Linked DNA regions of Homo sapiens: regions 2, 3 and 4 are each linked to region 1. Evidence: promoter capture Hi-C in 16 types of primary human blood cells and fetal thymus (Javierre and others, 2016). All regions are on one chromosome and are shown on one strand. The core of a region is centred on a gene start or on the middle of the fragment in contact, and the rest is flanking DNA. Distances in the headings are between cores, read along the strand shown. Region 1 holds the start of LINC02304 (long intergenic non-protein coding RNA 2304). Region 2 has its middle 2.7 kb from the start of BCL11B. Region 3 overlaps SETD3 (SET domain containing 3, actin N3(tau)-histidine methyltransferase). Region 4 has its middle 35 kb from the start of BCL11B.

Region 1 (4,646 bases), core at 1,372-3,871:
ATAAGGAATGCAGTTTTTACTAAAGTCACAGTCAGCGGTGCAAACAGGCTGAAAAATTGCAGTCCAGAGGAGAGAAATATCAATGTAGGCACTCCCCAGTCATATGACACTTAGGCTACATTGAATGGTCCTAGGAGCCACTTCTTCCCTGTTTTATATTTTTCCCCAGGTAATCTCCTTCGAAGCTATGTCCTTAGATACTATCTCTTTAGAGATGACTCCCAATTTTGAATCTCCCATGACCTCAGATCCTTAAATCCAGCTACCTCCTCAACACCATCACTTGGCTGCATAAAAGGAAGCTTAAATTAAATACGAATGAAACAGAAATCCAGATCTTCAAACAATGCAAACAAATAAAATGAAAAAAAAACTTGTTCAGTCTTTCTCATCTCTGTAAATGGCACTCTAAAGACAAAAACCTTGGTGTCATCCTTGATGGATCTCACTCCCTTCCCCATGATTCACACACAATCACTCAGCGGAGTCTCCGGCTCTGCCTTGAACATACATTCAGAATTTGACACCCTTGCTATCACCTCTGCCACCACACTCAGTCACTGGGACCATTGAAGCCACACCCTACATAATGGTCCCGCCTGTCCCTTGCCTCGCAAACTGTTTTCATTTGGCAACCAGCTGATGTCATTTGCCTCCTTACAAACCTACTTTAGCTTCCCAGCTCAGGGTAAACACCAATTCATGACAGCAGCTCCTATGACCAAACGCAGTCTGCACCTCAACCTCTGACAGCAGCCCCCATCACTCTAGCCTTCTTTCCTCCTGCTCCAGCCACTCTGGCTTCTTGACTGTTCTTGAACACAGCAAGCAATCGCCTGCCTCGGGTCTTTGCACCTGCCCTTCCCTCTGCCTGGAATGACGTTTTCCCTTACTTCCTTCTGAACTCCATTCAACTATCACCTTATCAGAGAAGCCCCCAGTAAAATAACACCTCCAATCACTCATGCCACATTGGTGGTTCTCTTGTTTGGCTTTATTTTCCTCCACTGTCATATTATACACACTTGTCATAGTGTAAATGCATCCATTGCTTGTTAACAGTCTTCCCCCATGAGAATGGAACATCCATGAGGGCAGAAAAGTTGTCTGTTTGCTGCTATTTATGCAGTGCTTAGAACAGTGCCTGGCACAGAGCGGGGTATATGCTCCAGGAGTATGTGCTGAGAGGAAGAAAGGAAGGAGGGAGGAAGGGAGGGAGGAAGGGAGGGAAGAAGCAAAAAAGGAAGGAAGGAGGGGAGAAAGAAAAAGAAGGAAAGGAAGAAACAAAGGAGGGAGTGAGAGAGAGAGGAAAGAAAGGAGAGGGAGGGAGGGAGGGAAGGAGGAAGGAAGGAAGACACTGGACTCCTTGCTAGCCCACAAGCCCACCCTCCTCTTGCCTCCACATCTTGGTCTGATGCTGTTCTCTATGCCTGAAAGCTGCTCTCCCAGCCCTCTCTGCCTGCCGACGTCTTTCTTGTATTTGGAGACAAGCGTCAGCTCCTCCTGGTCTATCCCAGAAGGGAGTCTCTGCTCCCACCTCTCTCCTCCTCCAGCAGTTTGTTTTAGGCACCATCGTAGTCAGGGTCCCAGCAGGAAGCAGAATTTGCCACAGATGGTTCAAATGAAGAATCTTTAATGAAAAGACTCTTAACAGAGGTGAGCAGGGTTAAGAGGACAAAGATAGGATGGCAAGGGCTCAGAGACAGGAAGCATCAGGGAGTGGTTGTCACCCCTAGGACTGAAGGGACAAGAGCAGGAAACTGGAGGCAAACTGTACAGGAGGAGACATCAGGTAGGACCCAAGTTGTGAAGGATGCAGCTCTTGCAAAAGATGCAAAGATAGAAGGAGTGGGAAGAAAAACCTAACCTCCTTTCCCTTCTTGGAAGCCAGGTGGCCAGAAAGCCTGGGCATGAATGGGAGGCTACAGGGCCAAGGTTCAGGCAGCAAAAACAGCATGTGCAAAGGCCCTGTGGCAAGAGAGAGCTTTCAGGGGGTAGGAGGAACTAAAAAGAAACTCAGTGCTGCTGGCCAGCTGAGAGCTGGGGAGGAGACAAATGGGAGAAGGGGTGAAAAAAAGAGGCCGCAGGCGGACCATGTGGGCCTTAAGGATACAAGCCCCACCTCCTGGTTTTCCTGGGGCAGTCCTCAAGGACACCTGTTGTCCCAGAGGAGGCATTAGTAATAAGCTCCACCCCCTAAAGATCCCTGCCATCCCCCCAACACACACACACACACACACACACACACACACACACACACACACACACTTCACTCCCACAAATGGTCCTGATTTGAACAGTAACTTACCTGGCCAGCCTTTCCACAGGGTGTATTGAAGAGCTCTGTCTTCACTGTAAGAGTCGGGATCCCTGAGGGTTGCAGGCAGTGTGCTCATTGCTCGGATTTGCATTTGTAAAGGGTATTCGGGTAGCAATAAAGCAAATGAGTTTTAGGGGCCATGGCATCAGGCCTGATAAAGATGCTATGGAAGTCCTCCAGGGTACCCTCGGACCTGCCTTTTAACATTCATGAGCTTTGGGATAAAATCCAGATGCCTGGGCCAGCTTCCCCCTTCCCTGTGATCTGCCCCACTTCCTTCCAGCCCCACCTCCTGCCACCCGGGCAGCTAGGAGCCCATCCTGCTGCAACACAGGTGCTCATCCTGCATCACAGGCATCACAAGCGCTCATCCTGCTGCAACACAGGTGCTCATCCTGCATCACAGGCATCACAGGCGCCCATCCTGCTGCATCACAGGTGCTCATCCTGCATCACAGGCTTCACAGGCGCCCATCCTGCTGCATCACAGGCACCCATCCTGCTGCACTTCTCGCCACTCCCTCATGGCCCCAAATCCTTGCTGTGCCCAGGTCTCTGCAAAAGCTGTGCCCACACACTGCACCACTCTCCTCTCCTCTCCTCCCCATTGCAGGCAAGCTCCCATTCTTCAAGTGAGAATCTGCTGATACACGCAGGTATTCTGTTAAAGGATCTCGTCACATCATTCTGTTGATGTGACATTTTCCATCTCTCCCCTATTATACCATGAACCACACGAGGATAGAGGGCTTGTCTTTTCCATGACAATATTTAATGTATTTAGTCCAGTGTCAATAAATTAGTAGAAATGAGGGAAAGAAAAGAAAGGGGGAGGGAGAAAGGAATAATGGGAGGAGAGGAGGAAAGGAGAGAGGGAGAGAGGGAAGGAAGAAAGGAAGGAAGGAAGGAAGGAAGGAAGGAAGGAAGGAAGGAAGGAAGGAAGGAAGGAAGGAAAGAAGGAAGGAGGGAAGGAAGGAAGGAAGGAGGGAAGGAGGGAGAGAGTGAGGAAGGGAGGGAGGGAGGGAGGAAGAGAGGAACTCTCAGGTGACTCTAAGCTATTTGTGATTCATCTTTGTTTGCAACTTATCTGGAATCTTGAAGTGAACTTCGGGGACCTGTTAACTTCTTCTTACACAATGCTTTCTGTGATACTTCTTTCCCTTTGTTCTAATTTTTTCCAAATCTCTCAAACTTTCAACGTCCCACACTTCGAGTTACATCGAAGCCCACTCCACTGCAAAAACTTCAACTTGTGATCTTGTTGTCTCAAACATCCTAAGGTTGTATAATAACCAAATGTCTTTGTTCTCACGATGAGAGTATGCATCAAGAATCAAAGAAGCAAGAGGAAAAGGAACGTTCCAGGCTATTACTGTAACAATCCAATTACAATGCCTATCAAACTTAACTTCACAGGTTATAGCTCCTAATTGCCTGACAAAAATTGACACTTCAGTCGCAACAGCATAATATAATCAGAGTCCAAATTAAATTTGATCGTGGGCAGAAAACGATGCTATCATTTGAAGGCATGGAAACAGGAGATCAACTAGCATGATACCAGGGATCAGAAATGAAAATTATTCATTAATGGCAATGCGTTTCTGATAATGGAAATGACACAGTTCAGACGGCTTCGTAAAAACACTATTAATTAAAAAGATGATAGACCTAACAAGCCGTAGAAACCAGAGGACTTTTTTTGGGGTGTGCTTGTTAAGGTGAAAGACGACAATGTGTAAGAACAGAAGTTGATGCACTTTCGTTGGAAGTGTTTCGCTGACGCATGAGCCAAGTTTACTGGCCATTGCTTTGTGAAGTGACATTCTCCAGGGGGCCATGTTCCAGGACTATAAGAAATAAAAAAAAATAAAAAGAGTCTTTGGCCATAATACAGCTCTGCAGTAAGTGCAAATGGTGCTGGCTGTAAAATAGAAGGGCCCAATTCATAAAACAAAAGGCTCAAGGGAGTTTGGGGTACAGTAAAAGAAAAATAGGCCTGGACAACTCTTGAAAGGGTGTGTGTACGTGTGTGTGTTGTTTTCCACCTTGCAAGTTCTGTGTGATTTGTCCCAGAGGGTGGCATTAGTGATAAGCTCCACCCCCCAGACCTCCCTGCCCTCCCCCCAACACACACACACACACACACACACACACACACACACATACACTTCACTCTCACAAATGGTCCTGATCTGAACAGTAACTTACCTGGCCAGTCTTTCCACAATCCCTAATTTAGGGGATTGAAATACACAAAACGACAGGCAAATCTCAGAGCCCATCAGGGTTTGGGTACAGAAATTTAAAGTTCCTTTTTTTTGTT
Region 2 (4,902 bases), core at 75-2,574, 2.1 Mb before region 1:
CAGAGCTCTCAGCATCTTCAGGAAAACGGTCTTCCTTGCAGTTTCAGTTACACAATTTGGAGACTCAGTGACAAAAGAGAAAGCAGCAGAGAGACCCTTTTGCATAACACACACACACACACACACACACACACACAAACACACACGTGCACTCACACCACAGCCGCTCGGATCTCTGTATATGTGAGGGGTGGGGGTGGAATTTGGTGCAGTCTGATCATCTTCATGAACGATATTTCTCCCAAGTCGACCAACTGGGTGATGCCAGTCCCTACCAAATTTGAATTGATGACTCAACTAAAGAATTAAAATTAGCAAGACAAGAAAATTCCAAATGAGGTGAGAAAGCTGTAGAAATAGTTCCAGATCCCCTAGTACTGAGCCATTCAATATCATTTCTGATGACAGGGACAGAGCTAGGAACATTCAATGTGGGTGTGAGTCCTTTTCATATACGGGGAGCTGGGTAAGTATTTTTTAAGGAAAATAATACATGAATCAGGAACAGTGAATTTTATTTAACCCCTTGCAGGCTGCAGATACAAAGGCAGCCGGCAATGATGCCTCAGTTTTCCTACAGCTTACCTATGCCTTATACAGTTAAGCAATGGTCAGAAATGTACTACTGTATCAAGGCCAGGTATTACTTGCAGAAAAAAATAAGGTGCCAATGATGTCATGTTTTAACAAAAGCAATGTTGTTAAATTCAGTACACCAAAAGAATCAACCAAACAACTGTTGAAAGGCAAGTTTTGTGGTCCTGACTCTGCTATCAGGTGACAACGTGAAAAACTCCTCTAAATCCAGCAAAGCTTTAATTGAGTGCTTATGGCTCCCAGAAATTTGCTGTAATTTTCAGAAATGACATAAAATAATTCTAGAAGATACAGCAGGAAGCCCAAAAGGCCTCTTTTGTCTTTTTATGCCTCTGGATTTGATAGCTGCTAAAGATTCTAGAACTGTAAGGAAAGAGATAAGGACCACCTTGGGAGCCTTATTAATATGTACATAAATATGATTTGCTTGGTGCCTCCACTGTGGTTTCCTCACAAGTTAGAATAAGTCCATCCACTGATCAGATCGGAACATCGTATTCATGTTCATCTTCTCAGTCAATAACACTTATAGATCCGGAGGAATAGAAATGAACAGACAGGGGTTGCTTCTGAGTCTGCCCTATACCTGTGAATATGAAACGATTTGCCCTCTCTTTGCATGGTTTTCTTCTTCTTCTTCTTCTTCTTCTTTGTTTTAAAGCACCAAAAATGAAGCCCAAAGTAATTTGGTAAGATGTGCTGTTGAATTGCTACAAAGTTGACTGCGTTTCAGAGGGTGGATCTGTGTTAAAAAGAAAACAACAAAAACAAATGAAATGTCAGTTTTCTTTCTGCAGAAACATTAGGACTTCCCATTTCTACTGACACGTCTTATCTTGATTCTTTCCAAATTTTTGTAAAGACATAAGAGATAAAATATAACAGCTCAGAAGGCAAAGATAACATTGTAGGATCTCGAATAGAGTCCAACCTCAGCTGAGTTAAGTATTGAGAATCGTTCAAAGAATTTTAAACAAAAAGCCTGGCTTGGGGGTCACGTGTCTGTTTAATCTGCCCCCACTGCATGGTGTGTTACACGCAGCACACACAGGGAATTAAAGCCCCACATAAGGTTAATAAAAATGCACTCTGATTTGATGAAATGATTTCTGATTTCTGAACTATTCCTCTATAAAGAAATTTAAAGTGACTGAGAATATGGAGGATTATCTGCTGGAATGCACTGTGAAGCTAGAAAAAGAATAGCAGGGAAATATTTGTGAGTTCAAAAAGCTTTTTGACATCTGCTCTGTGTGTGTGTGTGTGTGTGTGTGTGTGTGTGTGTAAAGATAGTGCAGAAAAGGTGGCATTTATTTCCATGTGATTCCAGCATGCACAAAGCCCCAGCTTTGGGCCCAGCACACAGTAGGTCTGCAGCAGGTGCTAGAGAAATGAACCTGGTTTTAAGATATTAGTTCAGGACCACATTTGGACCCACACTTTTTCCTTTTACATTTTCATATGTGAGCCACCTGCACCCTCTTTTTTGGGGGTGGGGAGGGGGCAGGAGTGACTTGTATTTTAAACAAAGGTTTGGTGAAGAAGAGGTGGGGTGGGGTGCGGTGGGGCGGTGCAGTGACCTTCTCAGGAGAGTCCTGAAGCCCCCTCTCGCCTGCCTGGGGTGCTGAGGCAGGGGTGGGTACATGGCTGTGGGCCGAGGTCGACCACCCCCCTCCCGCCCCGCCTGCTGTCTGGGCATCTAGAGAGTGGGGAAACATTAGTACGGGGCCAGCTGCGGAAGCCTGGCAGGGTCGAGGGAGAGGTCAAGGTCGGCCGAGAGGCGGCTATTGATCCGGCTTGGAACGTGAGACATGGAGCGCAGCAAGACTAAAGGGGGAGCTGTGAGACCAGACATTAACAGCTTTGCGCGCTGATGAGGCCCGTGCCAGACGGGCAGAGGGAAAAAGAGGAGACTGGAGTGGCAGCTGGGATCGCTCCCTGCCTGCGCCCGGCCGCCTCTCGGGAGAAGAGGAGGAGGAGGAGGAGGGGAAGGAGGGGGAGAAGGAGGAGGAGGGGGAGGAAGATGCGGAGGAAAAGGGGGAGGAGGAGGGCGAAGGGGCCGGCTCAAGGCTGGGCAGGGGCAGAGCAGCCTCTCCCCGGCTGCCGCGAGGTGGAGCGCGCCGGCGGGCGGCGGCGTGTCCGGCCCTGCGTCCGCCCGCCCGCGCGTCCCTCTTCCCGCCGTCGGGGCAGCGCGGGGCCAATGAGGAAGTGCTCCTCGGGTCCGTGGGGCACGCGCCGGCCCACGCCAGCTACTTCCTGCTGGGAGTGGGGAGGGGGTGCCCCCTCCCCAGGCACGGCCCCTTACCGCACGCGGGGTGGCGGCTGCAGCTGGGACTCCGAGAGCCCTTGCGCCGCTCGCGGAGGGGCTCCCTTTTCCTGAGGGGTCCTCCCCGTCCCGCCTTGCCACTGGCGGGGTCTGCCTTCCTTGTAATCAACCCCAGGAAGGTGAGGGTCGTGGGTCGGGATTTCGAGTCCCGGACCGCCGGCGGCGCTGGGCTGCAGGCACGCCGCGGTGTTTTGGGTCCAGACCTGTCCCTGACGCGCTGTGTGTCCTAGGGCAAAGTGCTCACCCTCTCTGGGCTTCACATCGCTAGTTCTCAGAAAGAGAGCGCGAGTTGATCTTTCAAATTTAGAGTCCGGGCGAGTAGGGATGGCCAGTTTATGAATGTCTTAAAGAAGTTTATTAAAGGTGCGTGTGGGCATATTTTTTTTAAGCCACTTTCCTGGAAAGATTTTCCCGGTGAGAGGGATGGCAGAAGAGGGAGGCCCTACTAGACTTTGGACCACGTGGAGGTGGGGTGTTGGGGGTGGGCAGCCGGGTGCAGCCTGCCCGGCCAGGGCGAGGAGGTGCAAGTCCGCGCCCCGCCCCCGGTCTCCATCCGCTCGGCCTCGCGTCCGCCCACCGTGGAGCCCACAGTTTACAGAACTGCAAGCCAGGGCACATTTTATTGTTATTATTTTTTAGGGTATGGGACTGGAAGGGATCTCTTTCTGTTCTCGCTCACGGACTCTGGGCGCTGTTAAATTGTTGGTGCCATCGCCCCACCCAAGACCTTCGGGACGAAAACAAAAACCCCCGTGTGCCCCCCGAGGAAAAGGCCCCGAGGGAGGCGGCGCTGAGGCGTCACGGCCTCGCCATGCGCCCGGGTGAAGCCGCCGGAGCCAGGCCTGGGGGCGGAGTGGGGTGGGTGCAGCTGGACTCGCCCGCGAAGCCTAGCCGGAGCCAGGCCCCGACCCGCCCTGGCCGCCTCCAGAGAAACCCTGAGAAGGGAGAGGAGGCCAGCCGCGTGGCGCGCCCAGCCCTGGAGGCCAGGTCATCAAATTGACAAAGTTGGCCACAGCCTGGGGAATGGGGGGTGTCCACGGGGGCCGTGGTCTGGCCTTGTCCCCGGGCCACGGAGAGGCCCCACAACTCCTCTTGTCCTCGCCGGTTGGAGATCAAACGGCTGACAAGGCAGCTGCGTCCTTCCCAGTCTGACAGGCATTTCCAAGTCCTACCCTGGGCCGAGGAGCGCGGGGGGCGGGGTGTGACTTCCAGGTTGCTGTGATTGTCAGGGGCGCCTCCTGGAGTCACCCACCCGAGTATCTGCGGAGATTTGGCCACACCTACTCCTGGGCTGGCAAGTCCAAGTCCCTCTCCCACGTGGAGCGCCCCGGTCCCTTTACCCTCTCGCTTGCCATAGACCCAGTTTAGGAGGTGGGGTCGTGTTTGACCCCAGGAGTTAATCGGGGTAAGGTGAGGGGAGGGGACAAAGATTTGAGTGAAAATCCTTTTCCAAGTGGGACTCAAACAAGGTCTCAAACACTTCTCACCCCCTCACGTGCTCTTGATTCTGTTGTCTTAGTGTCGTTTATTTTGTCATCCTCACCCTCCCAGAGTCTGTAATACCAGGATTTATATGGAGACACTTTTTGGAAGTTGAACTCCAACATCTACTCCCCTCCCCTCGCCGCCCGCGACCATAAAACAAAAGTAAAAACTACCAAGCGACTTTTCCAGGGAAACGAAGCGATTCTTACTGTCCCCCCAACTCCCATGTCGACCCCAACCCTTTTCCACAGTCCACGCCCCCACCCCCAAAGTCCAAGTCCGAAAGAGCTTTTGGGTGGGTGGAGACTTGCATTGATTCAATTTAGTTCACTCACACAGCACCCCGCCCCCCTTCTCAGGGGGTCCTGCTCCCAGGATGGAGGAGATATAAGGACGATTTTTCTTTTATTTTAAAATAAGCTGCCCAGTGGCCCCCCCCAACCCCCTCCCGCTGTTGCGCAGCCGGGGCTCGGGGGAGATGAGCGCACAAAAAC
Region 3 (5,055 bases), core at 970-3,469, 2.3 Mb before region 1:
GTTTTAATTTCTTTAATTCAGAGCATATATCCATAATTCAGAAATAGAGCTTTTCTTTTCCCTGATTCTTTATCCAATGGAACACCCACTTGGATTTCTTAATGGCCAAACATTAGATAAAGATAATACTTGCAAATGAATGAGAATAGTGCAGATCGTCAGTGAACAGAAAGGAGGCTTAGGTGCACCTGTGGGAGGCGTGGCCTGTGGGCTCACTGCCCTCACTGCCACCAGGGAGGCCCAGAGGCGATTATGTTTTGTTGAGTCCAGCAAGTGACAATCTATATAGTCTCTTTATCTAACTGTGCTTCCTTTATTTCAGGTATGTAATTTTCCATAATCATCTCTGATATAACTAGAGTTAACCTCAGTGCTCAAGCAGTTCTTTGCCCCATTTTCCAAAGCATTCAGATGCCACCTTTTGAGTACCTTGGGATCCCCTTTTTCCTCTGATTGCCAGAAACAAGCTTGTAGATTAAGTGAGATGTGCGTGTGTTTGCCTCACCATCATTTCCTTCCTCCTCCCCGGGCTAGATCACTACTGGTTACAACCTGGAAGATGACCGCTGTGAGTGTGTGGCTCTGCAGGATTTTCGGGCTGGAGAGCAGGTGGGTCTCGTGGCATCTCACAAAATGTGAGCCAGCCAGTGGGCACTAACGTTAACACCGTGTTGGTAATCTTAAAAAGGAACTTAACTTAGGGGAAAAAATGTGGAATTCACATTGAGGATTGTTTTTCTGGAACACATCTTGAGACCAGAACCCGTAGTACACATATTCACTTGTGCTTTACTCACTTGTGCTTTGCATTGTGCTTTGGGTCCACAGAGAAAAAGATTTAAACACAGTTAGTTGCACAATTGGCCTAATATTTGTAAATATTTGTAACACTCTTAACTGAAAATAAAGTGTGTTATGACACTAAACAATGTTTAACATTTCATAAACTGTTGCCTTTATTTTTTCTACTGATTAGAACTTTATAAGAGTATTTAAGGGGCAAAAGCAAGGGAATCTGTTGTCTTATACTTTCATTTTAATCTCTGATTTTTTAATCTAGTAGTTTGGGTGGGAGGAGGGGTAAGCCTTTGGGTGAGTTTGAAAATACGTGTCTATAAATTCCTACATTCTATCAGTCTACACCCAAGCAGACAGTACAGTCATGGAACTCACATCCATAATTGACATTCCAGTTGAGACAAAATGAAAAATACTTGCCTAGCAAAGTACTGATCTGTTCCTTCTTCAGAAAAGTTTATAAACCCACCTGCCAGGTGCAGGATTAATTGCCAGAGGATCTAGAAATAAGTTTCTGACAGATACTGCTTTACAGTTCCAGAAGAGACCCTGCTGTATTAAAAGGACAGGAAGAACTTGGTGAATTTTAAAATACAGTCTTATAGTAATAGCCTTGCTGTCCTTTGGAAGGAGAAGAGGTTTATAATAGAGGCCTGGTGACCCCAGGTCACCTGGGGTCCTTTGAGTACTAGTAAGGCCTTTGGTGGTACTTTCTCCTGGCCTCCCCTCTCCTCTCCACACGGTGGTGGAAGTGGGTGCTTGGTCTCAGACAGTTTGGAAAGTTGGGAAAATTGCACAGCTTCACCCTTGCAACCTATACCAAACAGGTGTATCAATACTTTCAGCTATTTAGTGTCTAAATGTAAAGTAGCACTAAGCCTCTGCCCTGCCCTGTGTTAAGAATACATGCCAAGTTTGTCTAATGCCCTTTTCTTTTTTCTTTACTGCATCTCAGATTTACATTTTTTATGGCACTCGATCCAACGCAGAGTTTGTGATCCACAGTGGTTTTTTCTTTGACAATAACTCACACGACAGAGTGAAAATAAAGCTTGGAGTGAGTAAAAGTGACAGACTCTACGCCATGAAGGCCGAGGTCTTGGCTCGTGCCGGCATCCCCACGTACGTAGAAAAACATCGGTTGGCCCTTTCTTGCAGTACTTGAACTATTTCCAGTTGCATAGTGTTTAATTGGTGTGTTAATAAAACTTCTCTCCAGTAGTTTGTCTTAATCCGTTTATCCCCGTGGCACAGCAAATTTAAGCCATGGCGACGCTTGGTGGCTTACCAGCGTTTTCAGGTAAACATAATTGTGTCGTTGGGCGCATTCACAGTCAGTTCTGGGGGATATGGCCTGAAATCCTCATTAAGTTAAATAACTACTTTCGTATCATTCATGTCTTTCACCTTGAAAAGGTTAATGGCCTGGATCAATTTGTTTCATTTAATTCGTTGCTACCATTAGTTTCTGTAATGAAGTCATGATCCTCAGTGATTTCAAGAATTTCTAGTTAAGTTCTTTAAGATTTTCTTGCATTTGAGGCATAAAATGATAAAGAAGACAGGAATTAGGATTCATTAGTTCTCCAGGGAATAGAGGAACCATTCTTAATGAAAATGGATTATGCAGACCTTTTTTTTATTGAACTTGTCAATATTTGATTAATGATTAAAGTGTGAACTCAACATAAATTATTGTTAACACTTTTTAAAAACCATGTGTATGTTTAATTTTTGAATGTATTATGTGCAACCTGAGATTACAGCTGTTAGGCTCTAGGAAAAGCTTGTGAGGATGGTCTCCAATTCTGGATGTCCGCTTGCCTCCGCCCCAGCCTGCGGCCTTTTGCAGGGGCTGAAAATCGTGCTCACAGTTGAGATGAGGAGCTGGAATGACCCATTCCAGCTCAGCTCTCCTTGAGGACAACCACACGTGCTGTAGACTTAAGGAATCTCAGTTTGGAGCAAGTGGGTAACCGCAGCAGGGTGACTGATCTTGCTTTCTGCTTTTATCAGTTCCAGTGTTTTTGCATTGCATTTTACCGAGCCGCCCATCTCTGCTCAGCTTTTGGCTTTTCTCCGAGTATTCTGTATGACTGAAGGTAAGTCATTTCAGGAAAAAAGAGATGTTGACTTTTTTCTTTTTAAATCATGAAAGTGTAAAGCATAGGGATTCAGATTAAAGGTAAAGTGGATTAAAACTACAGTACTTTTGGGAAGAGAGAAGATACAATACTGGAGAAAGAAGAAATAGATTTGTTTTACCCTAGAAATGTTTTATTAAATCCTCGATGTGTTGTCAGTATTAATTTGTAATACGCAAATAATTCTCAACTGCATTTGAAGAAAACTTAAAACATCTTGGATAGGGTAAATATATCAAAATTCTACATTTGTAGCCTGACAGAGCCTCATTTCACTCACGGGGCACTAGTCTTTTTCACTTACATAGAGCAGTTCAGGATCAGTTGATGCTGTGATGTTGTGTAGTCAGCTGTGGCATACGTGGACCGTAGGACTTTATTTGTTAACCTACTCTGCATTCTAAATCTGAAATTGCCAGCAAGCATTTTAATGCCAAGCATCCTGTTAGAGTAAATAACATTGCAAACAGAATCTGTGTAGAACACAAAATGTTCCTGGCTACAGCCTCTTATTTCATGCCCAGAAAGAGTTAAGTATTTGTATTGAGCATCTACTTTTATATTAGCTTAAAACAAGTCATTTGGGGTTTCTTATGCTGAGATTTGACCTCTCGTGGTTGTGTTTTTATTTTTCATCCTAAAATGTATCTTACAAATTTCCTGGCCCTGAGGTTTCATTTTTAAGAGAGAGAAAGAGAGAGAGAGAGAGAGAGAGAGAGAGAGAGAGTGTGTGTGTGTGTGTGTGTGTGTGTATGTTTTGCTGTTGTTAACTACCTTAAATCCTGTACAGAACAGTCTGAGTAGGAATGAGTAAATGAGTGTTTGAGTGAGTGAACAGACGAACAAGTGTTCTGGAAGGAAGCTGCCCAAGCACTTCCTTGGTCGGAGGAAGCAGTCATGGCCCATGTGGGGGAAGCTGCTGTGCTCGGCGGTCACTGGCTTTGGTTTTAATGTCTGGATCCAGGGAGCAGTGCAGCACAAGTCCAGGGTTTGACGTCATGCTGGAGGCAGAAAAAACCTAGTCCCGAAACAGGAGAGGCAGTTCACACACCAACCGCAGAACCCAAACTGAGATACAGTCATTGTTCCTCATAAGCAACCCTGTCGCTAGATTTACGGTTATTCAAGTGGGAGCTTTTGGTGCTTTTTGTACTTGGGTAATGGTTCATCAATTCAATGTAATGAACACGAGTTAAGGGGTTAACTGTGAGCTTTTCTTGCATATATATGGATACAGAATTGAATGTTGCAGTTCATGTACTCAAGGCATTTATAATTAAGAGAGGTGATGGTGATGATATTCCTTGAATTTGTGAAGCATTCACTGTGCGCCAGGCATGATGCTACATTTGGTACATGCTCAGTTTTAATCCCATCAGCCTTGATTGGGAAGTGCTCCCATTTTACTGATGTAGATTCCACTTCAAAGAGGGTAAGTATTAGCTGGGCGTGGTAGCACGTGCCTCTAGTCCCAGCTACTCGGGAGGCTGAGGTAGGAGGATTGTTTGAGCCTGGGAGGTGAAGGCTACAGTAAGCCAACCCCAGCCTGGGTGACAGAGTGAGACCCAGGTGGGTGGGGAGTGGGGGAAGAGTATAAAGTTGGCTGGATGCTGTGGCTCATGCCTGTAATCCCAGCACTTTGGGAAGTTGGAGGATTGATTGAGCCTGGGAGGTTGAGGCTGCAGTGAGCCGTGATCTTGCTACTGCACCCTAGCCTGGCCAACAGAGCAAGACCCTGTCTAAAACAAACAAACAAACGAACAAACTAACAAAAAACCCAAAGAGGATAAGTAACTTGGCCGAGGTTGCTCAGTAAGCAAGTGATGACCCTGACTTAGAACCCACCTCTGTTAACTCCAGAGCCCACGTGCAGGACATCCCACATTGCTCCTGCTGGTTCACAGATAACATAGTACATGGAAAAAAGTCTTAGTGCTCTAGGGGTCTGGAGGAAATGGCATTCAAGTTAAACTGTGGAGCTCAGCGACTGTTTGGACAAGGTAGAGCAGGAGGGGAGGGGTATGACTGAAGACCTTTAGCATAGGGAGGAGCTTGAGCAGGAGCTAGGGAGAGAGGGTGGAGGGCACTGGGCTCTGTACCCTCCGGGGTGAGC
Region 4 (4,389 bases), core at 1,014-3,513, 2.2 Mb before region 1:
TCTTTACAGCATCTTTGTGAAGTAGGCAGTAGAGACCTGAAGCAGATCATTTTAAACACTTCCCCTCCTCAATATGACAAAATTATTTTCAGTATCAGTAATTATTATTTTCTTCATTTTTTAGCTCTAAAACAATTTAAAAAATAAATTTAATGTTAAATATATTTAAATTTAGTAAATTTTTAAATTTATGAATGAAAATTTGCACTTATCAAACAAAATACTACACCTCTCAGCTTGCAAACTTGAATGATTTCCAGCCACTATAAAATTGCCATCTAAATAAACACTGTAATTGAGCTAATGTATTTTGGATGCAAATCACTTAACTAGAAGTTCTTTATATTAACTTCCATGTAAGATACAATATTTAATAAAGGATAAGTAATAAAAATGTGCTAATTTGAAACTTGCATACATATTAGTAAAATTCAACTGTAATAACAGTAATTATGTAGTACTTAAATAAACAAAAATTTTTTTTCCTAGAGAAATATCTTATCACTGGCATTATTTAGAATTGCCAATGCATGATATTAATAAAAAGCAGATCCACTTTTAGTTAGTTTTATTATTGTTTTAAAATTATCTATAGACAACTTCCTGCACACAGGGTACACTACTCTCACAAGCCCACTCTCAATATGCCACTGATTAAAATACTTCCTTTGAAAATTTTCATCTTGGTCAGCACTCTCACTTTAGAATTTCGTTTATTATGTGTTGGCAATTCATTCAAAACTATCAACTTAGTATCTATCTATCCATCTAAAATGTATGTATACACTTTTGCTCTCTCTCTCTGCTGTGGTTTGAATATTTGTCCCCTCCGAAACTAATATTGAAACTTAATCCCCAATGTGACAATATTGAGAGGTGGGGCCTTTAAAAGATGATTGGGTCATGAGGGGCTCTGCTCTCATGAACTGATTTGTCCATCCATGAATTAATGAATGGGTTAGCATGGGAATGGGACTGGTGGCTTCATAAAAGAGGAGGAGAGGCTGGGTACGGTGGCTCATATCTATAATCTCAGCACTTTTGGAGGCTGAGGCGGGCATATCACTTGGGGCCAGGAGTTCAAAACCAGCCTGGCCAACATAGTGAAACCACATCTCTACTAAAAATACAAAAACTAGCTGGGCGTGGTGGTATGCACCTGTAGTCCCAGCTATGTGGGAGGCTGAAGCATGAGAATCGCTTGAACCCAAGAGGTGGAGGTTGTGGTAAGCTGAAATGGCACTGCTGCACTCCAGCCTGGGTTACAGAGCAAGACCCTGTCTCAAAAAAAAAAAGAAAGAAAAAAAAAAAAAAAGGAGGGGAAGAGAGACCTGAGCTCGCATGCTCAGCCCCTCTCCATGCGATGTTTGTGCCACCTTGGAACTCTGCAGAAAGTCTGCACCAGCAAGAAGGCCCTCACCAGATACAGCCCGTTGTTCTTGGACTTCCCAGCCTCCATAATTATTAAGAAATAAATTCATTTTCTTTATAAATTATCCAGTTTTAGATGTTCTGTTATAAGCAACAGAAAATGGACTAAGACACACTCTCTTAAATGTATAATAAATAGACTATTTAATATCATGTTATAAAAAATTATATATTTTTATAATTTATATCTTATATATAAAAAATTTCCCTTAAAGTGATTTGAAGAGATTTTAATAATTAGTATATACACAGAGAGTTATCTTATTAAAGAATGCTATGTGGCATTTTATATTGTGGATGCACCATAATTTTTAAAGTAATTTAAAAAATTGAAGTGTAACGAACATAGAAGAACATACACAATCCATACCATACAACTTAATGAGTTTCTTGAAAGCCAGTCCACTTGTGTAACCACCACATATATTAATAAATAGAAAATTATTGGCATCCCAGAAGCTCCCTCATAGCCCCATCTAGTCATTGCTGTCCCTCAGATGTTACCTCTTTCCTGATTTCTATCACCATGACCTATTTTGCTTGTTTTTTTTTTTTTTTTTTTGAGACAGAGTCTTGCTCTGTCACCCAGGATGAAATGCAGTACAATCATGGCTCACTGCAGCCTTGATTTCCCAGGCTCAAGTGATCCTCCCACCTCAGTTGGGACTACAGGCATGCACCACCATGCCGGCTAATTTTTTTATATTTCGTCTTGCCATGTTGCTCAGGCTGGTCTCAAACTCCTGGGCTCAAGTGATCCTCTTGCTTTGGCCTCCCAAAGTGCTGGGATTACAGGTGTGAGCCCCTGCACCCAGCCTAGTTTTCTTGTTTTTGAGCTTTGTGTAAATGAGCAGATAGTATGTAGGTATTTGTATCTGGCTTCATGAACTTTATCCGTGTTGTTGCATGTAGCAGTGGTCACGTTTTCTCACTGATCTATAGCATTCCATTGTATGACCATGCCATGATTTATGTACCCATTCTATTATTCATAGACATTTGAGTTGTTTCTAGTTTGGGGCTATAATAAATAACACAGTTATGAACAATCTTCAACATATCTTCTGGTACCAGTATGTTCACATTTCTGCTGAGGAGCAAATTATAGGGGATGCATATATTCAGTTGTAGTCAACATTCTTGCCTTGATCCGAACCTTAGAAGAAAAGCACACAGTCTTTTGACATTAAGTATGACGCTAGCTATGGTTTTCTCTAGATACCCTCTATCAGGATGGGGAAGTTCCCTTCTATTCATAGTTTGCTGAGTTTTTAATCATGAATAAGTGTTGAATATTTCAATACTTTTTCTGCATTTACTGAGATGATCATATAGTTTGACTCCTTTATTCTGTGAAGATAGTGAACTATATTGATTGATTTTTAAATCTGAAACCAACTTTTCATTTCTGGGACAAACCCTATTTGGTTATGATGTATTATCATTTGTATGTATTGCTAGATTCAGTTTGCTAATGTGTATTTACTTATTTATTTCTGAGATGGGATCTTGCTCAGTTGCCTAACCTGAAGTGCAGTGGTGCTATCTCAGCTGACCGCAACCTCTGCCTCCTGGGCTCAAGTGATCCTCCCACCTCAGCCTCTTGAGTAGCTGGGACAACAGGCGTGTGTCACCACGCTCAGCTAATTTGTGTGTGTGTGTGTGTGTGTGTGTGTTTGTGTGTATATATATATATATATTTTTTTTTTTTTTTGGTAGAGATGGGATTTCACCATTTTGCTCAGGCTGACCTCAAACTCCTAGGCTCAAGTGATCGGCCCACTTTGGCCTCCCAAAGTGGCTAATATTTATCTAGGATTTTGTGTAGTTTTCTAAGGCATTTGGTTTATAGTTTCTTTTTCCTGTAATGTCTTTGATTTTGGTATTAAGGCCTCACAAAATGAGTTAGAAAGTATTTCTTCCTTCTGTACTTCCTGAAAAAATTTGTGTAGGACTGGTACTATCTACTTCTTAAATGTTTAATAGAAATCACCAGTGAAGTTGTATTTACCTGGGCATCGTTTTTTTGGGGAAGAGTTTTTAAATCACAAATTCAATTCCTTTAATAGTTATTAGGGCCAGGCATGGTGGCTGATGCCTACAATCCCAGCACTTTGAGCAGCTGAGGCAGGAGGATCGCCTGAGCTCAGGAGTTTGAGACCAGGCTGGGCAACATGGTTAGACCCCGTCTCTACAAAGAACAAACAAACAAACAAACAAAAATTAGCCAGGTGTGGCGGCATGCTCCTGTAGTCCCAGCTACTTGGGAGGCTGAGATGGGAGGATTGATTGAGTCCAGAAGGTCAAGGCTGAGGTGAGCTGTGATCATGTCACTTTGAGTTAGTTTGGTAATTATGTTATTATGGAATGAATGTTTATGTCTCCCTGTATTAGTCTGTTTCCACACGGCTATAAAGAATACCTGAGACTGGGTAATTTATAAAGAAAGGAGGTTTAATTGGCTCACAGTTCTGCATGGGGAGGCTTCAGGAAACTTACTTTCATGGCAGAAAGTGGGGGAGAAGCAAGCACATTCTTATATGGCTGCAGGAGAGAGAGAGAGAAAAAAAAAGGGGTGGGGGGAACTGCCAAGCATTTTTAAACCATAAGATCTGGTGAAAACTCATTGTCACGAGAACAGCATGGGGGAAACTGCCCCCATGATCCAATCAACTCCCAGCAGGTCCCTCCCTTGACATGTGGGTATTACAAATCAAGATGAGATTTGGGTGGGGACACAGAGCCAAACCATATCACCCCCTAAATTCATATGTTGAAGCCTTAACCCCAGTGGAGCTTTGGGAGGCAATTAGGTTTAAATAAGGTATGAAGGTGGGGTCCTCAGGATGGGATTAGTGTCCTGATATGAAGAGGAAGAGAGACCAGAGTGTGCATGCTCTCTCTCTCTCTCTCCAACATATCAGGACACATGGAGAAGTTAGCTGTCTGCAAGCAAGG

Evidence for each region. The method cuts DNA at HindIII sites, captures the fragments that hold promoters and counts their contacts. A CHiCAGO score of 5 or more calls a contact.
Region 2: a contact is called between a fragment that was not itself captured here and the fragment with the promoter of LINC02304 in region 1, in 1 of 17 cell types (total CD4 T cells). The highest score is 6.0, in total CD4 T cells.
Region 3: a fragment that was not itself captured here is called in contact with the fragment with the promoter of LINC02304 in region 1 in 1 of 17 cell types (total CD4 T cells); the score reaches 7.0 in total CD4 T cells.
Region 4: a contact is called between a fragment that was not itself captured here and the fragment with the promoter of LINC02304 in region 1, in 2 of 17 cell types (activated CD4 T cells and total CD4 T cells). The highest score is 6.7, in activated CD4 T cells.

Annotation. Positions count from the first base shown.
Region 1 is chr14:97,152,832-97,157,477 of GRCh38, reverse strand. LINC02304 (long intergenic non-protein coding RNA 2304) reads right to left here and starts at 2,621. Exons shown (of 2, transcript NR_146554.1): 1 at 2,309-2,621. RefSeq lists an enhancer at 2,888-3,057. The HindIII fragment of the contact is 13,309 bases long and covers 305-4,646 here.
Region 2 is chr14:99,272,455-99,277,356 of GRCh38, reverse strand. No RefSeq gene overlaps it. Among named protein-coding and RNA genes, the nearest start is that of BCL11B, 2.7 kb to the right of the region's middle. RefSeq lists an enhancer at 2,300-2,349 and a silencer at 2,750-2,949. The HindIII fragment of the contact is 1,017 bases long and covers 816-1,832 here.
Region 3 is chr14:99,402,070-99,407,124 of GRCh38, reverse strand. It overlaps SETD3 (SET domain containing 3, actin N3(tau)-histidine methyltransferase), which reads left to right. Exons shown (of 13, transcript NM_032233.3): 9 at 535-609; 10 at 1,754-1,920; 11 at 2,815-2,900. Among named protein-coding and RNA genes, the nearest start is that of SETD3, 76 kb to the left of the region's middle. The HindIII fragment of the contact is 735 bases long and covers 1,852-2,586 here.
Region 4 is chr14:99,304,740-99,309,128 of GRCh38, reverse strand. No RefSeq gene overlaps it. Among named protein-coding and RNA genes, the nearest start is that of BCL11B, 35 kb to the right of the region's middle. The HindIII fragment of the contact is 5,409 bases long and covers 1-4,389 here.